4 separate regions of the Homo sapiens genome follow, and regions 2, 3 and 4 are each linked to region 1. The links are contacts of gene promoters, found by promoter capture Hi-C in blood cells and fetal thymus (Javierre and others, 2016). All regions are on one chromosome and are shown on one strand. The core of a region is centred on a gene start or on the middle of the fragment in contact, and the rest is flanking DNA. Distances in the headings are between cores, read along the strand shown.

Evidence for each region. Contacts are between HindIII fragments. The CHiCAGO score rates a contact against its expected background, and 5 or more counts as called.
Region 2: a fragment that was not itself captured here is called in contact with the fragment with the promoter of SHISA2 in region 1 in 2 of 17 cell types (megakaryocytes and activated CD4 T cells); the score reaches 5.4 in megakaryocytes.
Region 3: a fragment that was not itself captured here is called in contact with the fragment with the promoter of SHISA2 in region 1 in 3 of 17 cell types (total B cells, erythroblasts and naive B cells); the score reaches 7.1 in total B cells.
Region 4: a contact is called between a fragment that was not itself captured here and the fragment with the promoter of SHISA2 in region 1, in 1 of 17 cell types (megakaryocytes). The highest score is 5.5, in megakaryocytes.

What each region holds. Positions count from the first base shown.
Region 1 is chr13:26,050,766-26,053,465 of GRCh38, reverse strand. SHISA2 (shisa family member 2) reads left to right here and starts at 1,450. Exons shown (of 2, transcript NM_001007538.2): 1 at 1,450-2,700. The coding sequence starts at 2,491. It overlaps LINC00415 (long intergenic non-protein coding RNA 415), which reads left to right. Exons shown (of 2, transcript NR_146971.1): 2 at 794-1,190. The HindIII fragment of the contact is 15,847 bases long and covers 1-2,700 here.
Region 2 is chr13:25,532,056-25,534,755 of GRCh38, reverse strand. ATP8A2 (ATPase phospholipid transporting 8A2) reads right to left here. Exons shown (of 37, transcript NM_016529.6): 5 at 2,439-2,484; 6 at 1,443-1,483. Among named protein-coding and RNA genes, the nearest start is that of ATP8A2, 160 kb to the right of the region's middle. The HindIII fragment of the contact is 566 bases long and covers 991-1,556 here.
Region 3 is chr13:26,701,018-26,703,760 of GRCh38, reverse strand. No RefSeq gene overlaps it. Among named protein-coding and RNA genes, the nearest start is that of GPR12, 58 kb to the left of the region's middle. The HindIII fragment of the contact is 576 bases long and covers 1,177-1,752 here.
Region 4 is chr13:25,493,000-25,495,699 of GRCh38, reverse strand. The region is part of intron 2 of ATP8A2 (ATPase phospholipid transporting 8A2); the gene reads right to left. Among named protein-coding and RNA genes, the nearest start is that of ATP8A2, 120 kb to the right of the region's middle. The HindIII fragment of the contact is 692 bases long and covers 998-1,689 here.

The DNA.
Region 1 (2,700 bases), core at 201-2,700:
GTCTTTTTGTCTGATTTCTGTATTTTACCCTGGAGACTTTAGGCCCTATTTGAAGGAAATGGCCATGCTGTCTGGCTTCTTGATGAGTCCCAGTACCCAGCACAGAGCACAGTACACTGTAAGTGCATGGCGTGTATTTCTTGAATGAATGATTTCTTGACATTGAAATTTTTTTTAGCTTACTAGCTTAAGACATTTGGTGAATAGTGCATTTAAAGTATATAATTTTGTGTAGCTTAAAACGATACACAACCAAAAAACTGCAAGAAAACAAAGTGCAATGCTTGGAGAGAGGTTTAGTGAAAAGAATAAGGTGTGTGTTGGGGAGCAGGGACATAGGGTAGGGTTTTTTTTCTTGGATTTGACATTGTTGGGGCAAGTGGAAGAATAATCAACAATGTCTGAATCTTCACATTAACCAGGCATACACAAGCATCCAATGGCTGCTTGAACCTGAGTGTCTTTGCTGTGAATAAAACTGCCTGTGTTCTGAAGTCATGGACTTGAAAGGGACCTTAGTGATCGTCACATCCTATGCTCCACTTTATAGATGAAGAAACTGAGACCAGAAAAACGCAGTGATTCCCTGCTAGTAGGGCTGGGTCTAGAATTCAGGTCTGCTGACTCCCAGACGGTGTGGGAAGGGGCATTCGTTCCTTTAAAAATAAGCACTGCTGCTTTAATAACATCAGCACCTGTTGTTCCAGCTTCTGCAAGAGAGAAGCTATTAATTTCTCCTTCATCAAAGCTGAATTTCTGGTCTGTCTGAACCTTGTTTTCTTCCTGACTGCAGCTGTCTAAACCACTAAGGCCACATGTTGGACGGAGGCACTTTCCTGCTGGAATCCGATAAATCACCACACCCAAATATAGAAAGAAAAAGGGACACAGATCATCCACACCGTGGCCGAATGTGTGACATCTTTGCTGAACTCTCTCCGTTCCACCTTGTGGTGGAGGCCTCCAGTCCACCAAACACAGCCCTAGGCGTGTGAACCCTGCCACAAACATCGGTGCTCTTCCTGCACAGGGCCTGGGACCAACCGTGGCCAGGACATCAGCTGCTGGAAGCCGAGAGAGTTCATCTGAGTGGCGATTTTATGATCTGCAGAGTGGAAAGTAATCATAATCCCTTGAGAAGTTTGCAGAATCGAACCGAATGTTGAATGCCAAAGATCTTCACAAAGCAAGTTGAGTTTCTTCCGTTATTATTGTTATTTGTGTTAGCGAGGCCTGGATTGCTTAGGTTGGGTTTCCTCCCGCGCCTATTCCAGCAGGCAGACCCCGCCCTTGGCCACACCTTTCTCCTTGCCCGGGGTAGGAAAGTGAGGGGCTGCCCGGCGCCCGCGGGCGTCCCTGAGGTCGGGGGTGGGGGGGAGCCGCGCAGCGCGCATGCGCGCCGGGGAGCCGCCGGCCTCTATAAGAGCGCGGCTCAGCGCGGCAGCGAGCGGAGTCGGAGCTGGTCTGGCGCCGGGCGGGGCGAGGCGAGGCTGTGGGCGGCTGCTGCGCTCGGCTTCTCCCGTAGCCCGGAGGAAAGAAACTTCCGTGGGAGGCTTCCATCGGTGCGCACACCTCCCGAGGGCGAGGCAGCGACCGGGAGAGGGAGAGCCGGCCGGAGGCTGCCGGGCTCCTGTGGGACCGCGCTGCAGCCGGGGAGGCGGAGAAGGGGAACCGGGGCGAGCCGCCCGCCTGGATCCGCGCCCAGCAGCAGCCGCGGCCGCCGCCAGCTGGGCAGGCTCCCGGGACTGCGGCTGGGGGCGCGCAGGACCCTCGCCTGCGTCCTGGACGTTCCCGGGGTCAGGAGCGCTCCCTCGGCGACGTGCTGGGAAGATTGGCCGTCGGCCCCGCCGAGTGGAGCGTCGGGGCTGCACCCCCGTGGGCTGCCCGGGCGGCCCGGCCGGAGCCATGCGGACCAAGTTCGGGGCAGAGGAGGCTGAGCGCGGCCGGCTGCGTCACTTGCTGCCCAGAGCCTTGCGTGCACTGCCCGCCTTCGCCCCTTCTACCCGCCCGAGGAGGGAATAAAGGAGGGGAGACGGGCCCTGATTCGCGCGCGGGACCCTGAGGCTTAAACCCTGCGCAGAGCCCTGGCTCCAGGTCCGCGGCGGCGCGCCCAGCGGTCATTCGGCTCGAGTGAGCATCCCTTCGGGGATGCTCAGGGAGGGTCCGGTTGCCAGTGAAACCTCCAGAGGCTTCCGGACGACAGCCCCGGGGGCCTTCTGACTGCATCCCGAGATTTCCATCAGCGAGTGCAACTCATAAGGCAGTCCCTAAGGGGACCGGGCCACCGGCTGAGGACGGGGATGGCTTAGGAGCTCCTGGACCTAGGGCCCGGCGTCGTCGCCTCCTGGGCGTCGCGGCAGAGGGGAGTGGCCCGCGCGGAAAGCGCCGCGGGACAGTCAGTGACGAGGCCCGGGGGTCGCCGGGGCCACGACTTCTCGGAGACCGTCCTGCGCTCTCTGGAGACGCGCTGTCCGCGCCCAGGGTGGTGCCATGTGGGGCGCTCGCCGCTCGTCCGTCTCCTCATCCTGGAACGCCGCTTCGCTCCTGCAGCTGCTGCTGGCTGCGCTGCTGGCGGCGGGGGCGAGGGCCAGCGGCGAGTACTGCCACGGCTGGCTGGACGCGCAGGGCGTCTGGCGCATCGGCTTCCAGTGTCCCGAGCGCTTCGACGGCGGCGACGCCACCATCTGCTGCGGCAGCTGC
Region 2 (2,700 bases), core at 24-2,523, 520 kb after region 1:
TCTTCCCATGCCTAGTACAATCTCTGGCACATGCCAGGAGCTCCACTGAAATAAACCAAGTAAATACATTTTAAATGGAAATAAAACTGCATGCGGTACAGTACATAACTGGTGTTTCTTTGTTATTGTTGTTTTTCTCCCAAATGAACGATGGAAACAGTCATGAGTTTTAGGAGTCTGCAAAGCTGTCAGCTCCTGGACCACAGAAGACCATCAATTAGAGACCATCACTCCATTTTCTGCTGTTTCAAGTAATGTCAGGCCCTCTGAATCCAAATCATTCTTCACTCTAGCTGATACTGATACCTTTCTGGGGAGGGAGTAACAAGAAGAACCCTAGAGAAATAGAGGGGCAATTTCCCAGTGCTGGGAGAACCCTTGAATTCCTTCAGCATTGGGAGCATCTCTCCCACTTTGAGTCAAGAATTCCCAACCTCCTGACCAAGAACCATGACCTTTCCAAACGTGAGGTTGATGAATGTTTGCAGCATACGACTTCAAGATTGCAGCAAAGGTTAAGGTGTTACTGTAAAACACTATAAAGGAGAAATTTCTTTAAAGGGTGGCGAATTCTCCTAAAACAAAGTAAAGTAAAACGAAAACTAAAGCAAATGCTGCAGTTACCATATCACGGGCATTTTTCAGATATAAAAGACTGTAAGAGGCATTTAAAAACATTGTTTATTAAATGTTTATTTAGCAAGAAGAACCACTTCAAGTTACCCTTCTAAAAAGCTGTTTTCTTTTGAAATCATGTTAATCGGCTTTGAATGCTGGACTAATGAGAGTCATCCCCCAACACATCTTGTGTCCATTAAGAAGGTCCAGCTAAAACACTCATTTAAAAAGCTAATTTTATGAGATATAAAATACCTAGATGGTATGGCAGATTTCTTCTAAATTTTCTACTCATCACCATAAACAACCAAAAAACCACACCATTCTTCAACCCTCTAAACCTCATACTTCCAGGGACGTGGAAGCAAAGCTTTCCTTGCTATTATTAAGAGCAGCTAACTGCTGTGCTAGAACGGAAATGGGGTGGTTTCTTGCCCCCTTTCCACCACTCTGTAGTTAATGACCTTTCCACCCAAAAATGTTTAAAGTGAGAATCACAAATGCTAAAAACAAAAATAAACTTTAACTTAGGTTAAGACAACAGAGGACCAGGGAAAATATTTCTCAAATTGGATTTAGAAACTAGAAAATACTTTGAGATTTCAGAAACGTCACTCAGGAGCGATGAAGTTCATAGCTTGAAGTGACACATTGGGCCCTTACTAGAAGGTGCAAGGGAAGGAGTAAACACGCATCAGGTCTCAGCAGACCTCATGGAAAACTCTACTGTGTCTAACAGAAACTTTATACTGCAATCAAGACCAGCAATTCATTACGCGTCTTCAAACCAATAGTACTGGTACATCTTTAAAATTAGTTTTTACCTCTTTCCACATAATGGTATGCCACATACCATTTCTTAACACTGAAAAAGAGAAAAATAAAATATTGGTTAATACTGGTGTTAAATTGAATCAGCTTCCTAAAATCCAAAAGCTTTCTTTTAGAATTCCATTTATTAATTCTAACATACCCTATCTTTAGCCATGATGGCATAACATCAGCACCCCCACCCTCAAAATGGAACACCAACGTATGGTATGTACCTCTGTAACATATATACATTCATGCATACACATAAATGTTTATGTATGTATGTAAGTTAAATCTACTTATTTTCAGCCCAGAAGAAAAAAAAAGCCTGCTGTTCCACAATTTAAAAAAAACTGAACAGCTGGGCGCAGTGGCTCATACCTGTAATCCTAACACTTTGGGAAGCCAAGGCAGGCAGACTGCTTGAGCCCAGAAGTTTGAGGCTAGCCTGGGCAACACGGTGAAACCCATCTCTACCAAAAATACAAAAATTAGTCGGGGGTGGTGGTGCTTGCCTGTAGTCCCAGCTACTCAAGAGGCTGAGGTGGGAGGATCACCTGAGCCTGGGAGGTCAAAGCTACAGTGAGCCATGATCATGCCACTGTAGTCCAGCCTGGGCAACAGGAGTGAGACCCTGTCTCAAAAAATGAAACAAACAAACAAAAAATTGATGTTGTAGAAATAAAACAATAAAAAGTAGAAGAGGGAAGTAAGGAGAGATTATAAATGAAGGACATGAATGCTTAGACTTTTTATGGACATAAAAACTGTCTAGTTCCTGAAAATTACAACCTTTTCTAACATTCTAAAATACACAAATGCTGTTCAAACTTAATTATCAGGACTAAAATTATGTTCAGTTTGTTTGTTATTTTACTATTTCTTTATTTTATAGATCATCTTCCCAATTTATCTCAATACCATTCACTACTTATTTAAAATTCCTTAAATGCAGGCCTTATTCTTAAGTTTTCCAGTGGAAAAAGTCCTTCAGCCTGGGATCTTACCTATTGTTTTCTTTTTGTTAACTGCATTGTCTGCCTTGTGTCGCTTCTGTTACAGAAAGAAAAAAAATAGTTTAACATTCAAAAGTTCCACATGAATAATTGAAATAGCAAACAAAACAATCAGGAAATTACAGGGGACAAGGAAACTAAATGCCAATAATGCTCATGCTGTAAAATTCAGTTAGACAATTTTGTGATCTATCAGCACTCCCTAAGTTTAGAAGTGGTCTCCTCTAGTTTCAATTATTTTATTTTGGTTCTA
Region 3 (2,743 bases), core at 215-2,714, 650 kb before region 1:
TTTGCCATCATGGCCAGGCTGGTCTCCAACTCCTGACCTCAAGTGATCCACCCGCCTCTGTCTCCCAAAGTGCTGGGATTATCGGCGTGAGCCACACACCTGGCCTGGACTTTTTTTTTTTTTTAACAGACATCCTCTCAGTGATTTAAAAAAATTCAGTAAGAATATAGAAGACTTGACAATACAAAAAAACTTAAATCAATGGACAGATATAAAACACTGCATCCAATAACCTCAAATACACTATTTTCTAAAACTGGCTATGTCCTGGATCATAAAGTAAATCTCATCAAATTTCATAGACAGCATGTATGCTATCATGCAAAGTGTCTTCTAAAACTACAGTGCAATAAAGTGAGAACTAAAATCCAAAAACCTAAGCAGAAAATCCTCATCTGTTTGCAAATTAAGAAACCTGCTTCTGAATCACTCACACATGCAAATTAGAAAATATCTTGAACTGAATGTTAATTAAAAGACTCCATATCCCAACTTACGGAATTTAATTAAGCAGAATGTAGTAAAACTATAGCCATAAAATGTGTATGATGGAAAAGAAGATTGAAAAATAATGAACTAAGAGTCCATCTCATGAAGTTAGAATAAGAATAGTAAAATAAACCTGAAGAAGTGAGAAAGAAAGAAATCACAAAATTCTGAGCACAAACAAATAAAATTGAAAACAAACATAATAAAGAGGACCAACACTAAAGGTTACTTTCTTTAAAAACAAAAACAAACAAACAACGAACTAATAAATTTGGCATAGCACCAGTGAGCTGGACTCAGAGGCAAAAGACAGCACAAACTGCTTTCAACAGAGCATCACGATAGTGGTTGCTGGCATTAAAAAGATAACAAGAGAATATAACAGATAACTTTTTCCTGAAATTTAGAAGAAATAGTCTAATTTTTAGGTAAAGGTAACTCATCAGAAATGACTCAAGAAGAAATAAAAAGCGACAATTGCCCTAAAATACAAAATACTAAAATACAACAAAAAAAACTGAATCAGCATCAAAAACCAAAAGAAAAGCCCAGCTTCAGATGGCCTCACTCTTGAGTTCAGCCAAACCTTAAATTAAAGACCAAAAGTGCCAATCTTATAAAAGCTTTTCTACAGAATAGAAAACAGCAAAAATGCTTGTTTGCTTATTCTATAAAGCTGACAAAGCTTTGTTCCCGAAATAAAAATAGTTTTAAAAAGGAAAATTGTAGACTAATCTCACTCATGAAAATAAATATAAAACTTCTAAACAAAATAGTAACAAAATAATGTAATCTGTAGTTAACGGGTTAAGGGAGAAAAGTCACATGAACATCTGAATAAATATAGAAAGTCATTTGTAAAATTCAACAACTACTTGTGATTTTTTAAACAAAATTTTAAACTAGAAATGGAAAGAAACTATTAATCTGATGAAGCTATTTTAAATAAAGATTAGAAAAGAAAGCTATTCATTACATAGATGTATGTATATATGTACGAACATGTGTATGTATGTGAAACCTATTTAAAATGAAAGGATACGGAAAGTTTCTTTTAAGTTATTAAACATATCCCAGGCAAATATAAATGAAAAGAAAGCTGTATATCAATTTTGGTATCAAAACTGTTTTAAGGCCAAAATTTTAAAAATCAGAAAGAAAAGGAAAGAGTATTAAAAATAAAAATATAAATTAGATATTTTAAAATATTCCTTTGAAGCTAACAGATCAAGCAGGCAAGTAATAACCAAAGGCATAGAAGCTTCGATTAATATTTTGAATAATCTTGGTTAATTAGAGATTAAAGAAAATGAGCATTGCCTCTAAGTGCACACAGAACAGTCATGAACACGAGCGATACATAAGCCCATGAAGGAGGGCCCAATGCATACCAAAGAATCAGCAACATTCAGCCCATCTTCTCTAGCCTTATATAAAATTTAAAAAATCGGTATCAAAAGTGGGAGGCTTAGGCAGGAGAATTGCTTGAACCTGGAAGGCAGAGGTTGTTGTGAGCCAAGATCGCGCCACTGCACCCCAGCCTGGTCAACAGAACGAGACTGTCTCAAAAGAAAAGAAAAAAAATCAATATCAAAAGGATCAATGTATATAATCCCATATAGATGAAAATCAAAAACAACACATACATCATCTTTGTAATAAAGAAGAAAAATAAGGAAAATTATTAAATATTTCACATTGAATGACAAGAAAATGACCACATGTCAACATTTGTAGGACTAAGAAAGTTATATTTAGAGGTAAAACTATAATTTTAAATGCATTCATTCAAAAACAACAAATGAGGTAAGCTCTGAGTCAACAGGCTTCACAAAGAAGAAGAGTAACCCCAAGCAAGCAAACACCCGAGATAAGGGCTGACACGAATGAAAGAAAGAATAATACAAAAAGAGAGAAGATGAATCAAACCAAATATTCATTTCTTTGAAAAAAGTTGGAATATAGAAAAGCCAGTAGTAAAACTAATCAAGAAAAAGAGAGAAGCAATTCAAATTTAAAAATATATATAAAAATAAAAATAAAATAAAAAGAGAAGGGGAAATGGACACATTCTCTTAAAAACTTGAAACGCTGGCCGGGCGCAGTGGCTCACGCCTGTAATCCCAGCACTTTGGGAGGCCCAGGCAGGTGGATCACCTGAGGTCAGGAGTTCGAGACCTTGCTGACATGGTGAAAACCCCGTCTCTACTAAAAACACAAAAAATTAGCTGGGCATGGTGGCAGGCACCTGTAA
Region 4 (2,700 bases), core at 94-2,593, 560 kb after region 1:
AAGTCAGGAGTTCGAGACCAGACTGAGCAACATAGTGAGACCCCATCTCTTAAAAAAAAAAAAAAAAAAAAAAAAGCAAGGCATGCATGGTGCATGCCTGTGGTCCCAGCTTCTTGGGAGGCTGAAGCAGGAGGAGGGCTTGAAGCCAGGAGTTGGAGCCTGCAATGAGCTACGATCATGCCACTGCACTCCAGCCTGGGTAACAGAGCAAGACTCTGTCTCTTAAAAAGCAAAAATACAACCAAAAAACCAAATAGGTAGGAAGAGAGAGCAGAGAAAAGGTAAGGAAGGGTCCTTCCACCTCCATCTGTGCTTTCCAGCTCTCGCCCACACAAGACTCACAACCCCACAACACCTCACCCAGTCCTCATCAACCCTTCCAGATCCAATCCTGCTGCTTCTTGGACTCATTCAAACCCCTTCTCAGCCTCTTACACAGGCCATTTCCAAGGCAATGGCACACTCTGGCCTTTCCTGAACAAAGACAGGTGGTAAAGTGGGTTGGAAGAAGCCCAGCCCCACCCTGGAAGGGCAGCAGCAGGAGGTTATAACTGGAACGTTGTCGACTTCCTGTTCTTGTTGTGTTTGCCCAAATGTCCTCAACGTGCTCAGGAACAACAACCAAGGTGGGCTTACATAGGTGTTTGGTTTGGGAGGTAGCTGGCCACAGGGAAATCTGCGGAGACACCTAATTCAGACAGTTTAAGAAGCAGAATCTTAAACAGATTTGAGAGGCAAGAGATGTGAAAAGAAAGCAAGCTGTCACCCAAGGGCTGCTAGCCAGCAGAGGGCCTCTAGGGAACTAGAAGGACATTGCAAAGCTCCGGGCTGGACCCCTAGGTCTGTGTGATTTTGCTGACATCACTGTGAAAAAAGAAATCATTACAAAGTCGAATTCGCTCACAGCTAGAAGGATTCGGACAGAAGGTGTCCAAAACAGTAAAAGGGAAGATGCTGTTAACTGTGTTTGAAAACAATTATAAAAATGTCAGAAGCTTCAAATCAGTTTTTATCCTTATGTTTTCAGTTTTTTAAACACAGATGAAGGCCCTGTGAATATCAGAACAACAGCAACGCGCTTCTAAAATATAGATGCAGATACCACAGAGCCTGCCCCTCATAAAAACAAACAAGCAGGCAAACAAACAGAAAAGCGGGCTGTGTCCCCACAGTCTCCTCTCTTTTCATATAATCCTTCCTACCTTCATCCCTGCCAAACAGGCTTTCATACCCTTTGCAGCATGGCTTTGTTCCCAGGAAACCTAATAAGATATTTATGATTGTTTCAATATTGGCAGCAGGAGTCTCTGCAGTGGCAGAAAGGTCAAAGCGATCCCTCCAACTACCCCCACCGCCCACCTTGGAGATTACATCTACTATACACACAATTAAATGCAGCAGACCCAGACTGATCTTTTCCTTGTAATTTTTTTAATCACCAAAGGATTAAGAAACGGAAGTACATTATTCAACACAGCAATTCTAAGTGGGTCCCTTAACAGACATTGACCCACATGTGTTTTCTGATGTCACCTAGGTTCTTGGTGCCACAGACCTTGGACAGCTCCCTGCCCCATGCACCATCCTGGCTGTTCCAACCGTTCTCTCTCCTCAAACTCTCCGCCCTACCCCAGCCCCTTCACTTTGAGCACTCTGCCTCCTCCCCATTTCATGGAGTAAACTGAAGCTTTAGAGTGGACGTGATTCACCTTGACACCCACACACACAAACCGACTCCCAAAGCTCTTTCCACCCTATTGATAAAGAAGTCTCTCTTCTTCTTGCCCAAATCAATAAACATTGCACCTGAGCTCACCTACTGGCAGCCCTCCTTTCCTGGTTAGCCCCTACACCTCCCAGGGCTCCTGTGCCACCTCCCCTCCACACTCCTTTTCCTGACCCTGAAACAGAGATCATCCCTGAGGTTTTCTGCCTTTGGTCTTTATTCAATGCACTGAACCATCTTTTCCATGTATGGCTGAAATTAGCACCAGTGTACTCATCAAATGGTTATCAAATTCACCCCCAGCTTGGATGTCTACCACAAGCTCTGTCTAGACCAGCATATTTAACTTCTCTGGATACACCTACCTGAATGTCCACAGACTCTGCAAGATCAACGTGATGACAACTGATGTCTTCACTTCCGGTTCCCGCATATGTTTAGTAATCCCACAGTGAGCTTTCTCAACTAAGCCAAAGAGTTGAGAAAACACCAAGGAAGCAAAAATAAAAAGCATAAAACAAAAAATGCCCTACCAAAAAGTTACACCAACAAATGGTTTAAGCGCCCCCATCAAATGAAAAAGGATCTCTGTGGGGATTTTCTTATGTAACTTCAAAAAATTAAAAACAAAGTTATGAGTAGTCATATAACACAAACATGAGCAAAAAGAAAGGAAAGGCTAAAATAGTAACATCACCACCAAGTTTAAGACAGAAATAATTAATGAGCATAAGGCCAGAGTAAAAATTACAGCCACATTACCACCAGTGTGGTACACTTTATTTTACATAAAATTAAATTTTACTCAAAATGTAAATTATGTTTTACATGAAAACATGTAAAACAAAATTCACAAGCAAATGGACCAAGAAAGCTGTAACAGGAGATTGATGCTATTATCAAACTGACTAATTGGACAGGCTAAAAATACAGATTCAAAAAATGTAATTAAAATGTCTAAACAAATGAATTTT